4 separate regions of the Homo sapiens genome follow, and all the other regions are linked to region 3. Evidence: promoter capture Hi-C in 16 types of primary human blood cells and fetal thymus (Javierre and others, 2016). All regions are on one chromosome and are shown on one strand. Each heading gives the region's core, a stretch centred on a gene start or on the middle of the fragment in contact. The rest is flanking DNA. Distances are from core to core; before and after follow the strand shown. Region 1 has its middle 3.1 kb from the start of DENND10. Region 2 overlaps EIF3A (eukaryotic translation initiation factor 3 subunit A). Region 3 holds the start of MCMBP (minichromosome maintenance complex binding protein). Region 4 has its middle 6.8 kb from the start of PRDX3.

The links. The method cuts DNA at HindIII sites, captures the fragments that hold promoters and counts their contacts. A CHiCAGO score of 5 or more calls a contact.
Region 1: a contact is called between a fragment that was not itself captured here and the fragment with the promoter of MCMBP in region 3, in 1 of 17 cell types (fetal thymus). The highest score is 5.8, in fetal thymus.
Region 2: a contact is called between a fragment that was not itself captured here and the fragment with the promoter of MCMBP in region 3, in 1 of 17 cell types (naive CD8 T cells). The highest score is 5.6, in naive CD8 T cells.
Region 4: a fragment that was not itself captured here is called in contact with the fragment with the promoter of MCMBP in region 3 in 1 of 17 cell types (naive CD4 T cells); the score reaches 5.5 in naive CD4 T cells.

Annotation. Positions count from the first base shown.
Region 1 is chr10:119,099,480-119,102,638 of GRCh38, reverse strand. No RefSeq gene overlaps it. Among named protein-coding and RNA genes, the nearest start is that of DENND10, 3.1 kb to the left of the region's middle. The HindIII fragment of the contact is 268 bases long and covers 1,548-1,815 here.
Region 2 is chr10:119,041,060-119,044,036 of GRCh38, reverse strand. EIF3A (eukaryotic translation initiation factor 3 subunit A) reads left to right here. Exons shown (of 22, transcript NM_003750.4): 19 at 1,265-2,043. Among named protein-coding and RNA genes, the nearest start is that of NANOS1, 13 kb to the right of the region's middle. The HindIII fragment of the contact is 5,604 bases long and covers 1-2,977 here.
Region 3 is chr10:119,871,272-119,874,101 of GRCh38, reverse strand. It overlaps MCMBP (minichromosome maintenance complex binding protein), which reads left to right and starts at 1,259. Exons shown (of 16, transcript NM_001256378.2): 1 at 1,259-1,575. The coding sequence starts at 1,518. RefSeq lists enhancers at 730-899, 765-924 and a silencer at 1,155-1,804. The HindIII fragment of the contact is 9,733 bases long and covers 1-2,830 here.
Region 4 is chr10:119,184,077-119,187,134 of GRCh38, reverse strand. No RefSeq gene overlaps it. Among named protein-coding and RNA genes, the nearest start is that of PRDX3, 6.8 kb to the right of the region's middle. The HindIII fragment of the contact is 3,528 bases long and covers 1-3,058 here.

The DNA of each region.
Region 1 (3,159 bases), core at 432-2,931, 770 kb after region 3:
CGCTATGTTGCCCAGGCTGCAATTTATACATTGGAGTATATTTAGGTGTGTATATGGCATTCCTGTTTCTCTCACTAAACTGAACCCCTGGAAGGCAGCACCCTGAACTACGTGCCCTTCTATTCTCTGGGCTTCCTGTTGTAGTATAACTGTTAATGTGTCTAGTTTTCACAGAAAAGAAGCAGGTGTTTAGAGGCTGAGGAGTGGGACACAGATGTGGAATCAGTTTGGAAGCCAACTAGAAACTTGCACTAGGTGGGGCACGGTGGCTCACGCCTGTAATCCTAGCACTTTGGGAGGCTGAGGTGGGTGGATCACGAGGTCAGGAGATTGAGACCAACCCGGCTAAAACGGTGAAACCCTGTCTCTACTAAAAATACAAAAAATTAGCCGGGCGTGGTGGCAGGTGCCTGTAGTCCCAGCTACTTGTGAGGCTGAGGCAGGAGAATGGCGTGAACCCGGGAGGCGGAGCTTGCAGTGAGCCGAGATCACGCCACTGCACTCCAGCCTGGGCGACAGAGCGAGACTCCATCTCAAAAACAAACAAACAAAAAATCACAAAAATTAGCTAGGCATGGTGGCAGGTGCCTGTAATCCCAGCTACTCAGGAAGCTGAGGCAGACTGGCTTGAACCCAAGAGAGGACGGTTGCAGTGAGCCAAGATCGCGCCACTGCATTCCAGCCTGGGCGACAGAGTGAGACTCCATCTCAGAAAAAAAAAGAAAAGAAATGAGGATGAAGACGATGATGAACAGATAATTAAACAAAGGAGAGGGAGATGATAGTGGGTGCAGGGAGGGGAAAGATAATGAGGGGTGTGTCCAGGCTCCAGTGAGTGGGATGATACCTGGAATTGACACCTCCTTCCCTCCTGTTTCTCCACAAGTGCTGTCTTACCTGCCAGACAGGTACACCAGAGTGAAGGGAAAAGGAATAGAGGGTGGAGAGAGCAGAGGCGACGCATCCCCAATCTTTAAAAGTAAGACTGACCTCTGCGCTGTCACAGACAGATGGAGCTGGGGTGTGGAAACAGACAACCTGAGTTCCAACCCCCTTGCCCATCTTAGCTGCGAAACCTCACACATGTTTCCTATCTTTTCTGTGCATGTTTTCTCAGTGATCAAATGGAGCTAACCATACTTTCCTCCGTGACTCTCCCAATAAAGATTTGAATCAGGGAAAATCTTTATGCTAGTTTTATTGATAAGAATAGCCTAATTTTATAGGTAAGAATATAAAGGGTCCCCAAGACCACCCCCCAAATTCAATGATTTGTTGGAAGGATTCTCAGGATTCAGCATATAGCTATACTCATGGCTATGATATACATTTTTATTTTTTTGAGACAGGGTCTCACTCTGTCACCCAGGCTGGAGTGCAGTGGCACGATCACGGCTCACTGCAGCTTTGATCCAGGCTCAAGCTATCCTCCCACCTCATCCTCCTGAGTAGCTGGGACTACAGGCAGGCACCACCATGCCTAGCTATTTTTTTTTTTTTTTTTTTGAGATGTGATCTCACCATATTGTGTAGGCTGATCTCAAGCTTCTGACCTCAAGCGATCTGCCCACCTCAGGCTCCAAAGTGCTGGGGTTACACATGTGAACCACCATCCCCAGCTCAGGGCTATGATTTATTACAGCCAGAGAATACAAAGCAAAATCAGCAAAGGGAAAAGGCACATGGGGTGATGTCTGGAGGAAACCAGGGCCAAGTTCCCAAGAGTTATTTCCTGGTAGAGTCACACAGGACACACCTAATTCCTCCAGCAACAAGTTGTGGCAATACTTGTGATATTTATCAACCAGGGAAGCTTGTTAGAACTCAGTCACCAAGTAACTCAGTTTTTACTGGGGGCCAGTCACATAGGTACCCTCTGCCTAGCTCATACCAGATTTCCAGACTCTCATGAACCACATTGTATGTACAAATAGTTCAGGCATAGTCTGTCACTCTGATCAGTTTGATCAGTTCTAGAAATGCTGGGAACACTGCCGAAGTCCAAGTTTCCAGGCACAGCCAAGGGCCAAACTGGCCAGCAGACTTTCTATGGATATCACCCTCAGGCCTGTCGTGTGAATTCTTTTTTGCACAGCCTGCTCACTCCTTGCTCTGCAGAAAAAGAGTAAGTTACTGGCACTGAAGCAGATTTGGAAAGTGCCTAAACTGTCTGGCCACATGGACAAGTGCACAAGGGACCCCAGCATCTTCCAGGTGTTCCAATCCCAGGTTCCTATGAGTCAAATATGGTTCTTTTTCATCTTTGTTTCTGTAATTGGATTCCATCATAGATTGGGCATGTGTCAGCCAAGGGAGCCATTAGGGTGGCAGTTTTTTTTTGTTGTTGTTGTTTTGTTTGTTTGTTTGTTTTGATGGAGTCTTGCTCTGTCGCAATGCAGTGATGCAATCTCAGCTCACTGCAACTTCCGCCTCCTGGGTTCAAGCAATTCTCCTGTCTCAGCCTCCTGAGTAGCTGGGACTACAGGCGCAGGCCACCACACCCGGCTAATTTTTGTATTTTTAGTAGAGACAGGGTTTCACCATATTGGTCAGACTGGTCTCGAACTCCTGACCTCAGGTGATCCACCCACCTCAGCCTCCCAAAGTGCTGGGATTACAGGTGTGAGCTACTGTGCCCAGCCTTTTTTTTTTTCTGAGACGGAGTCTTGCTCTGTCACCCAGGCTGGAGTGCAGTGGTGTGATCTCCACTAACTGCAACCTCCGCCTCCCAGGCTCAAGCAATTCTCCTGCCTCAGCCTCCCAAGTAGCTGGGACTACAGGTGTGTGCCACCAAGCCTGGTTAATTTTTTTTTATTTTTAGTAGAGATGGGGTTTCACCATGTTGGCCAGGCTAGTCTGAAACTCTTGGCCTCAAGTGATCCATCCGCCTTGGCCTCCCAAAGTGCTGGGATTACAGGTGTGATCCACCACGCCTGGCCAAGCTCTTTTAATTTAAGGGATTCAGTCTCACTTGGGAACTGGAAGGCGATTCAGTCAACTGCTCTGACACTCCGTCCTGACTTCTAGCATATGTGAGGCTTCCAGAACATTCCCAAGATGAAGTCATCCTCCTTGTGTTCTCAATGGTTTCAGGATGCTGGGTAGCTCTCCGGCCCTAAGAAGCCCAGGTTTCGAGCTGTGTTGCATTATTCTTTTTTC
Region 2 (2,977 bases), core at 83-2,582, 830 kb after region 3:
AAATAATGCCGCTCCAGTTCCTGTTAATATCTTATCAGTGGTTTTAAAATTTGGTTCATTTTGTAGAGGCAGGGAAAGGAGAGCCATGAAGAATTGTGTGCATGTCTGATTGCGTGTGGGTTTGTATTTTGTTTTTTTGGGTCTGCTGCCCAGGCTGGGGTGCAGTGGCGCTATCTCGGCTCCCTGCAACCTCTGCCTCCTGGGTTCAAGTGCCTCAGCCTCTCGAATAGCTGGGATTACAGGTGTGTGCCACCACACCTGGCTACTTTTTGTATTTTTAGTAGAGATGGGGTTTTGCCATGTTGCCCAAGCTGGCTTTGACCTCTTGACCTCAAGCGATCTGACTGTCTCAGCCTCTCAAATTGCTGGGATGACAGGCATGAGCCACTGCACTTGGCCTGTGTTGTTGTTTTTGTTGTTGTTGTTGTTGTTTTGAGATGGCGTCTCACTCTGGAGTGCAGTGGCGCGATCTCGGCTCACTACAGCCTCAACCTCCCTGGGCTTAGGTGATCCTCCTGCCTCAGCCTCCTGAGTAGCTGGGACCACAGGTGCGCTCCACCATGCCTGGTTAATTTTGTTTGTTTGTTTCTTTGTTTTTGAGACAGAATCTAGCTCTGTCACCCAGGCTGGAGTGCAGTGGCGCGTTCTCGGCTCACTGCAGCCTCCGCCTCCTGGGTTGAAGCAATTCTTGTGCCTCCCAAGTAGCTGGGAGGCACTTGTAATCCTCCCAAGTAGGATTACAGACATGCACCACCACGCCTGGCTAATTTTTGCATTTTTAGTAGACCCGAGGTTTCACTATGTTGGCCAGGCTGGTCTTGAACTCCTGACCTCAAGAAATCTGCCTGCCTCGGCCTCCCAAAGTGCTGGGATTACAGGTGTGGGCCACTACGCCTGGTGAATTTTTATATTCTTTATAGTGATGGGGTTTTGACATGTTGCCCAGGCTAGTCTCAAACTCCTGGGCTCAAGCAATCCTCCCGCCTTGGCCTTCCAAAGTGCTGGGATTACAGGTGTGAGCGACTGTGCCCAGCCGCATGTCTTACAATTAAGTAGAGATGGGTTTTGCCAGGCCAGGCTGGTCTTGAACTCCTGACCTCAGGTGATCTGCCTGCCTCTGCTTCCCAGAGTGCTGGGATTAAAGGTGCGAGCCACTGCTCCGGCCCATACTGAAGTTTTTAAAAAGCATGTGAAAAAAAAAATCCCCAAAGGATCATATGCTTTTTTATTTTATATATTTTTAATTGTTCTTGTTGCTGTGTAGGGAGTGGAGACGTGGAGAAGGGCGAGATGAGGACAGGTCTCATAGAAGAGATGAAGAGCGGCCCCGGCGTCTGGGGGATGATGAAGATAGAGAGCCCTCTCTTAGACCAGACGATGATCGGGTTCCCCGGCGTGGCATGGATGATGACAGAGGCCCTAGACGTGGTCCTGAGGAAGATAGGTTCTCTCGTCGTGGGGCAGACGATGACCGGCCTTCCTGGCGTAACACAGATGATGACAGGCCTCCCAGACGAATTGCCGATGAAGACAGGGGAAACTGGCGTCATGCGGATGATGACAGACCACCTAGACGAGGACTGGATGAGGACAGAGGAAGCTGGCGAACAGCTGATGAGGACAGAGGACCAAGACGTGGGATGGATGATGACCGGGGGCCGAGGCGAGGAGGCGCTGATGATGAGCGATCATCCTGGCGTAATGCTGATGATGACCGGGGTCCCAGGCGAGGGTTGGATGATGATCGGGGTCCCAGGCGAGGCATGGATGATGACCGGGGTCCCAGGCGAGGCATGGATGATGACCGGGGTCCCAGGCGAGGCATGGATGATGACCGGGGTCCCAGGCGAGGGTTGGATGATGATCGAGGACCTTGGAGGAACGCCGATGATGACAGAATTCCCAGGCGTGGTGCAGAGGATGACAGGGGCCCTTGGAGAAACATGGATGATGATCGCCTTTCAAGACGTGCTGATGATGATCGGTTTCCCAGACGGGGTGATGACTCAAGACCTGGTCCTTGGAGACCATTAGTCAAGCCAGGTAAAATTCTATTTCCTAGAATATGCTTAAGTGTTCACCTGTAAAAGTGAAATTCTGATGGATAAATATCAGGGCTGTATTGTTATTTTCCAGATAAACTGGTCTTTCATCTTTCCTTCAGTATCATTTGCAGTGACTTCGCTGTCAAAAGTTTGCCTTCAGAATACCACCATCCAAAACATAAATAACCCAACCCCTCTCTTCTTTAGTGATGTGCTCTTTGTTTTCCTTCTGCTTCGATGACTGCTTCTTTGAAGGCTCTTCCTGTACTCATGCTTTCAGTATTGGTGTATTTTTCAGGTTTTACTGGGAACCAGCCTCCTTTTAAAAATAAATAATTGAAACCAAAATGTACTTTATATATTTATTTTTGCCAACTGAGAGATTATGCAAGGAGGAACTCATTTTACTTTACTTTTTTTGAGACAGGGTCTTGCTCTGTTGCACAGGCTGGAATGCAGTGGTGCAGTCATGGCTCACTGCAACCTTGACCTCCCGGACCCTAGGGAGCCTCCCACTTCAGCCTTCTGAGTAGCTAGGACTACAGGCGCATGCCACCACACCCTGCTAATATTTTATTTTTTGGAGAGACGGGGTTTCGCTATGTTGCCCAGGCTGGTCTCAAACTCCTGGGCCCAAGTTATCCTTCTGCCTCTCCCTCCCAAAGTGAAGTGCTGGGATAACGGGTGTGAGGCGCTGCGCCCAGCCTCATTTTTTTTCTTAGTCCTGGGCCTGCTTATTGTTTCACACTTTATTATTCGTGAGCAGTTGTATACATGTTTGTGACATGCGTCTATTACCATTTTTTTTCTTTTTGAGGTGGAGTCTTGCTCTGTCTCCCAGGCTGGAGTGCAGTGGTATGATCTCAGCTCACTGCAACCTCTGCCTCCCAGGTTCAAGCAATTCTCCTGCCTCAGCTTCCCAAGTAGCTGGG
Region 3 (2,830 bases), core at 10-2,509:
ACTGCTTTCGCCATTTCTCCCCAGTTATTGTTCTTTATTGTAAATGCTACGTAATTCCCCCATTCTAAGCCACCTGTTTGAGTTACTCTTCCTTGAGTTTTGCCCATATAAGATGTACATGTTACTAAATTTTTCTTTTGCCAATCCGAGCTTTGTGATAAGGGCCGCAGTGGAGAACCTAGAAAGGTAGAAAGATTTTCCCCCCTTCCTACAGCCCCAAGGAGGGTTTGAGACACGGGTTCCGTTTTTTTCCTTCAGCTCCTCACTTTGTAGATTCCATTCAGGTCATTCCCCTTCCGTCACCATGCCCTTTTTTCATTGAGTAGATATATCTGATGGGCCTGGGGTTTTCTTAGGTACATTTCAGGCCCAGGGGAGACACAGTTTCATTCTTTTTTTCTTTTTTATCGGACAGCCTCCTGAACCAGAAGAGGTTCAGAGCGACTCCCACAGTTTCACTCTTGAACTTGGGTATTTTCCAAATTGCCTCAGCAAAAGGCTGCTGTAGTCGGTCTTCGTAGCTTCCTTCTCCAGGGTATCCTAGCGGCGCGCAGTGCAGGAGCCTCGCACCGCTCCCCGACGGCGGCTGCCAGCTTCCAGACAGACGCCGACCCGGTGTTCGCAACCAGGGCGCAGGCCGGGCCCGGAGCGTTTAGAGCGCCCGCCCCTCGGTAAGGAACCGTCCCTGAGCCACAGGGCCTGACGCGACTGCAGAAGGAGCGTGGGGTCCTCCGAGGTTCCCCTTCTCTAAATGTGCACCTTCCTCAGGGAGACCTTGTGCAGCTGAGGGAAAAGTCACCACTCAGGGTTTCGGGCCGGGGACCCAAATAAAAGTGCTGCCATCAGCAAAAAAAGAAAAAAAAGGCACGAAGAGGAGGTGGGCGGATTCCCAAGGCGGTTTCGCCCACTAATTTTGCCCAGAGATGACTCTGAGGTCTCTGAGCTTAATGCTTTTCAGCTGTTGTGCAGACTCGCTTTGCCCTCTTATAAGCCCACTATGGGAGTTCCCGCTACACGCCGGCCCAGGGGTACAAACGACAACGCGCCGCCCTTGGAGCGCGTCGCCGGGCCCCGCGCTGCGCAGCCTCCAGCGGCGCTGCGTGCCCTTCCTTTTGCCCGTCTCCAAGATGGCGGCGCCGCCGCCGCCCCTCCTCCTCGCCGCGCAGAGCCGCGCTGCGCCGCGCGCTCCCGCCGCCCCTCCCCACGCGAGCTCCACCCAGGTCGCAGGCAGCGCGGTCGGCGGCGGCTATTTCCCGCCATTGTGCGAAGTGAAGGCTAGGGGCCCGTACGCGCCCGCCTGACTGTCGCCAGCAGCTCCTCGGCGGCCCCACCGCAGCCGCCGCTCCCTGAGGCGCGGGAGGCCCGCGCCCCGCGGCTCGCTGTGCGTGGGAGGGCGCGAGCGAACGCGGGCGAGGAGCGGCCGAGCCGCTGAAGAGGAGCTGGGCGCCGGCCGCCCGGCCGCGCTCGGCCCGCGGATCGCCTCCGCCCGGTCTTCGCCGGCCCCGGCCCCTGGCGAGATGCCGTGTGGGGAGGATTGGCTCAGCCACCCGCTGGGAATCGTGCAGGGATTCTTCGGTGAGTGGCGGCGCCGGGGGGCGGGCCGGGCGGGCAGCCGAGTTTGCCGGGCCCCGGGGCAGGGCCCCGCCGCGCGGCCCCCACGCGGTACCATCTCGAGGGCTCGCGTGGCCCGAGACGGGGCCCCGGGGCCTGCACCGGCCCCAGCTGGGACAGCCTCTCCCCCGGTCGCAGCAGGCAGGGGCAGGAGCCGGGCCGCAGGTACCTCCCACCTGCCCGAGTCGCAGCTTGGGAGCCGCCAAGGTGAAGTCGTGGGGCGCGGGCTGTGATTCGCGGGCTGTGATTGACGGCCTCGCTCCCAGCCTGTGGCAGGGCCAGGGCCCCGGCCCCGGGCGCAGCAAACTCGGAGGTCCTCGAACCCTGGGGAGGGCCCGCAGAGCCGCGGGGAGGGAAAACCACTTTGCCTGTGGGAAGCCCACAGGATATTTCAAAACTTCCGGTGCGTCGGGGAGTGCTCGCTTGCACAGAAGTTGGTTCTAACTCCTGTGCTACCCTCATTCTCTCTTTCAGAGATAAGATTTAATGTTCATAGCTTAGTTTTCCTGTTGGGATGACTTTAGAACCCATCTAGTCTGGATCTGCTCCTGTGCCAGAGCCAGCAAGAAATATTGAGCTACTTGAGTTTGTACACAGGGCTGAGAATCCTGCAGGCGAGCTTAGTAAATTTTGGTTGCGATTGCTGTTGCTACTTTACTGCGAAGGGTATACGAAGAAAAGTTTATATTTGTTGTCGTTAACTGGGCATTTTGACAACCGTTCCATTCCCCAGTGTCTTTTTACACGTAATGAGTGGCGGAGTCAGATCCAGCTAGAAATCACTGTAGATGGCAACACCTGACTTGTCTGGAGTTAACTTAGAGTTGTAGAGCGGCCTTAGCTCATTGAAAAAAACATCTTGGGGTACTAGAGAGAAAAGGCAGTGGGAAGCTAAATCATCCTCAGCAGCCAAAATCGACGGCAAACAATGTATGGTATTTCTTATAGGAGGGCCTCTAGTGCTTACTCAGGAAGTCCTTATTAATTTACCTGTAATTCTAATTAGTTTAGTTACCTGGCTTCCCAGGCTGTAACTAATGGCATTATATTAGAAAAAAGCCTGGATAGACGTCCGAACTTAGCCAGTGAACACTGACAGCCTGATGAAGAAATTTAAAACTACCTTCATACTTGAAAAAAAAAAAAATTCACTATATAGCAGTCAAGGGTGCTTTGAGGAAGGGGCATATATTTCTCCACTAAATCCTAGTAATTTATG
Region 4 (3,058 bases), core at 123-2,622, 690 kb after region 3:
GAACATCAATTGCAGGGGCGGAACCTATTAGAAATGCTTAGGCAAAAGAGCACAGCGTACCGCATCAATGGACAGAATCCACAGTGAGGCCTGGTGCCTGGGAGTGGAGTACTTGAGATATTTCACTAAAGGACAGATGGTCAGTGCTCCTTCATGTCCTCACACAGCCCACATTTATAGTACCATCTCCTATTATGTCCCATCAAGCACATTATGCTCCAACAAATACTGTAGGAGGTCATACAATATTGCTTTAAGAGTTGGGGCACTTGGCCAGGCACGGTGGCTCACGCCTGTAATACCAGCACTTTGGGAGTCCAAGGTGAGTGGATCACGAGGTCAGGAGATGGAGACCATCCTGGCTAACACGGTGAAACCCCATCTCTACTAAAAATACAAAAAAATTAGCCAGGTGTGGTGGCGGGCGCCTGTAGTCCCAGCTACTCGGGAGGCTGAGGCAGGAGAATGGCGTGAACCCGGGAGGCGGAGCTTGCAGTGAGCTGAGATTGCGCCACCGCACTCCAGCCTGGGCGACAGGGCGAGACTCCATCTCAAAAAAAAAAAAAAAAAAAGAGTTGGGGCTCTGGCCTCACACCGGTAATCCCAACATTTTGGGAGGCCAAGGCAGGAGGACTGCTTGAGCCCAGGAGTTTGAGACCAACCTAGACAACATAGGAAGACCCTTCTCTACAAAAACTAACAAAATTAGCTGGGCTTGGTGATACACACTTGTGGTCCCAGCTCCTTGGGAGGCTGAGGTGGGAGGATTGTTTGAGCCCAGGAGGTTGAGGCTGCAGTGAGCCATGGTTGTGCCATTGCACTCCAGCCTGGATGACAGAGAGAGACCCTGTCTCAAAAACAAACAAACAAACAAAAAACAATAAAAATGAAAAGGAATGGGGGCTCTGCAGTCAGCTTTCAAGGTTTAAATCCTGGCTCCTTCCCTTTCCAGTTGTGGGACTTTGGACAAATTACTAAACCTTCCCAAGCATCAGTCTCCTCACCTTGGAAATGGGGATGATGAATTAAAAACAGTACCTGTGGCTGGGTGTGATGGCTCACACCTGTAATCCCTACACCTGGGGAGGCCGAGGCAGGCGGATCACTTGAGGTCAGGAGTTCGAGACCAACCTGGCCAACATGATGAAACCCCATCTCTACTAAAAATACAAAAATTAGCCAGGTGTGGTGGTGTGCACCTGTAATCCCAGCTACTTGGGAGGCTGAGGCAGGAGAATCACTTGAACCCAGGAGTGGAGTTTGCTGTGAGCTGAGATCATGCCATTGCACTTCAGCCTGAGTGACAGAGCAAGACTCTAAAACAAAACAAAACAAAACAAAACAAAAAACAAACCGAAAAAGCACCTGTGTCATAGGGTTGTGCAGACGGAATAGAGATACTGCATTCAACCCAGAGCGTAGCCCCATAGTGTGGTCACTGAAGATAACAGTAAACCAAAGGGACAAAGGTCACTAGTCACTTCCACCTGCCATCTTCCCCTTCACCTTCCCCAAGCAGCAGGATAGATGATTTCTCTGTGAAGCCCTTCTTGGCCCCTTTCTCTAAACCATGATAGCACTTCACTTGCACCTCTCTTTTATTTAATATAACGAACACTATGTGCCTGCTGACTGTGCTAATGCCTTTAAAATATGAACTCATTTATTCCTCACAAAAGCCCTTGGGGTAAGCACTAACATCATTTCAATTTTACAGATGGGAAAATGTGCTAAGTAACTTGCCCAAGGCCACGTGCCTGCAGCTAGCAGAGCTGGTGTGTCAATCTCAGCTGTCCACACTCAACCATTATGCCTCTTTCATGCCTCTTAAAATGCTGAATCTTGGACTGGGTTTTTTTTTTAATGATTTTATCAGTATTCCTTGGATACACACACAGTTCCTCGGCAGCAGGGTCTAAGTGATCCTCTCCAGTACATGTTTATTAATGATTAAAATCACATTGTTGGCTAGGGACGGTGGCTCATGCCTGTAATCCCAGCACTTTGGGAGGCCGAGGCGAGAGGATCACTTGAGGTCCGGAGTCCAAGACCAGCCTGGCCAACATGGCAAAACCTGGTCTCTACTAAAAATACAAAAATTAGCTAGTTGTGGTTGTGGGCACCTGTAATCCCAGCTACTCAGGAGGCTGAGGCAGAAGAATCTCTTGAACCCAGGAGGCAGAGGTTGCAGTGAGCCGAGATTGCACCACTGCACTCCAGCCTGGGCAACACAGCAAGATTCTAAAAAAAAAAAATCACATTGTTAATTGATCCAATACCAGAGGGCTCTCTATTTGGTACCTAATAGGACAGGAAACAGATTACTTCAGAGGCTAAAATGGGCAGGAATCATGCAGGAAATCTAACTGAAGGCAGCCGCAGGTGAATGGGGCTACATGGAAGACGGAAAGTAATGTTACCTTGAAGCAGCCAGGCACGGTGGCTCACACCTGTAATCCCAGCACTTTGGGAGGCCGAAGCGGGCCGATCACCTGCGGGCCAATCACCTGAGGTCAGGAGTTCGAGACCAGCCTGACCAACATGGCAAAACCCCATCTCCGCTAAAAACACAAAATTAGCTGGGCGTGGTGGTGCATGCCTGTAATCCCAGCTACTCAGGAGGCTGAGGTAGGAGAATCACTTGAACCTGGGAGGCAGAGGTTGCAGTGAGCCGAGATCGCACCATTGCACTTTAGCCTGGGCAACAAGAGCAAAACTCCGTCTCAAAAAAAAAAAAAAAAAAGAATTGCTTTCAGAGCCAATTATGAGGCCCTCAAGTAATGTTACCTTGAAGCCTAACCCTGCCTATGAGCTGGCACTAACTAATGCATCTGAGCTTTAAAACTGAAACCAGGATGAGTGAGGTGAAATTCTAAGGGAACTCCACTCTGCTCTGTCGCTTTGACTTGCACCATGCTTTACATTTTTATAGTGAAGTTTAGTTATGAGCCAAACTGCCTGTGTGCAGGAACTAAAAAACACACGCCTACAATAGGAGAGCAAGAGGCCCTCCAGCATGGGGAAGGGAGAGGTGGGCGGCAAAGGGCTGTGGGCATAA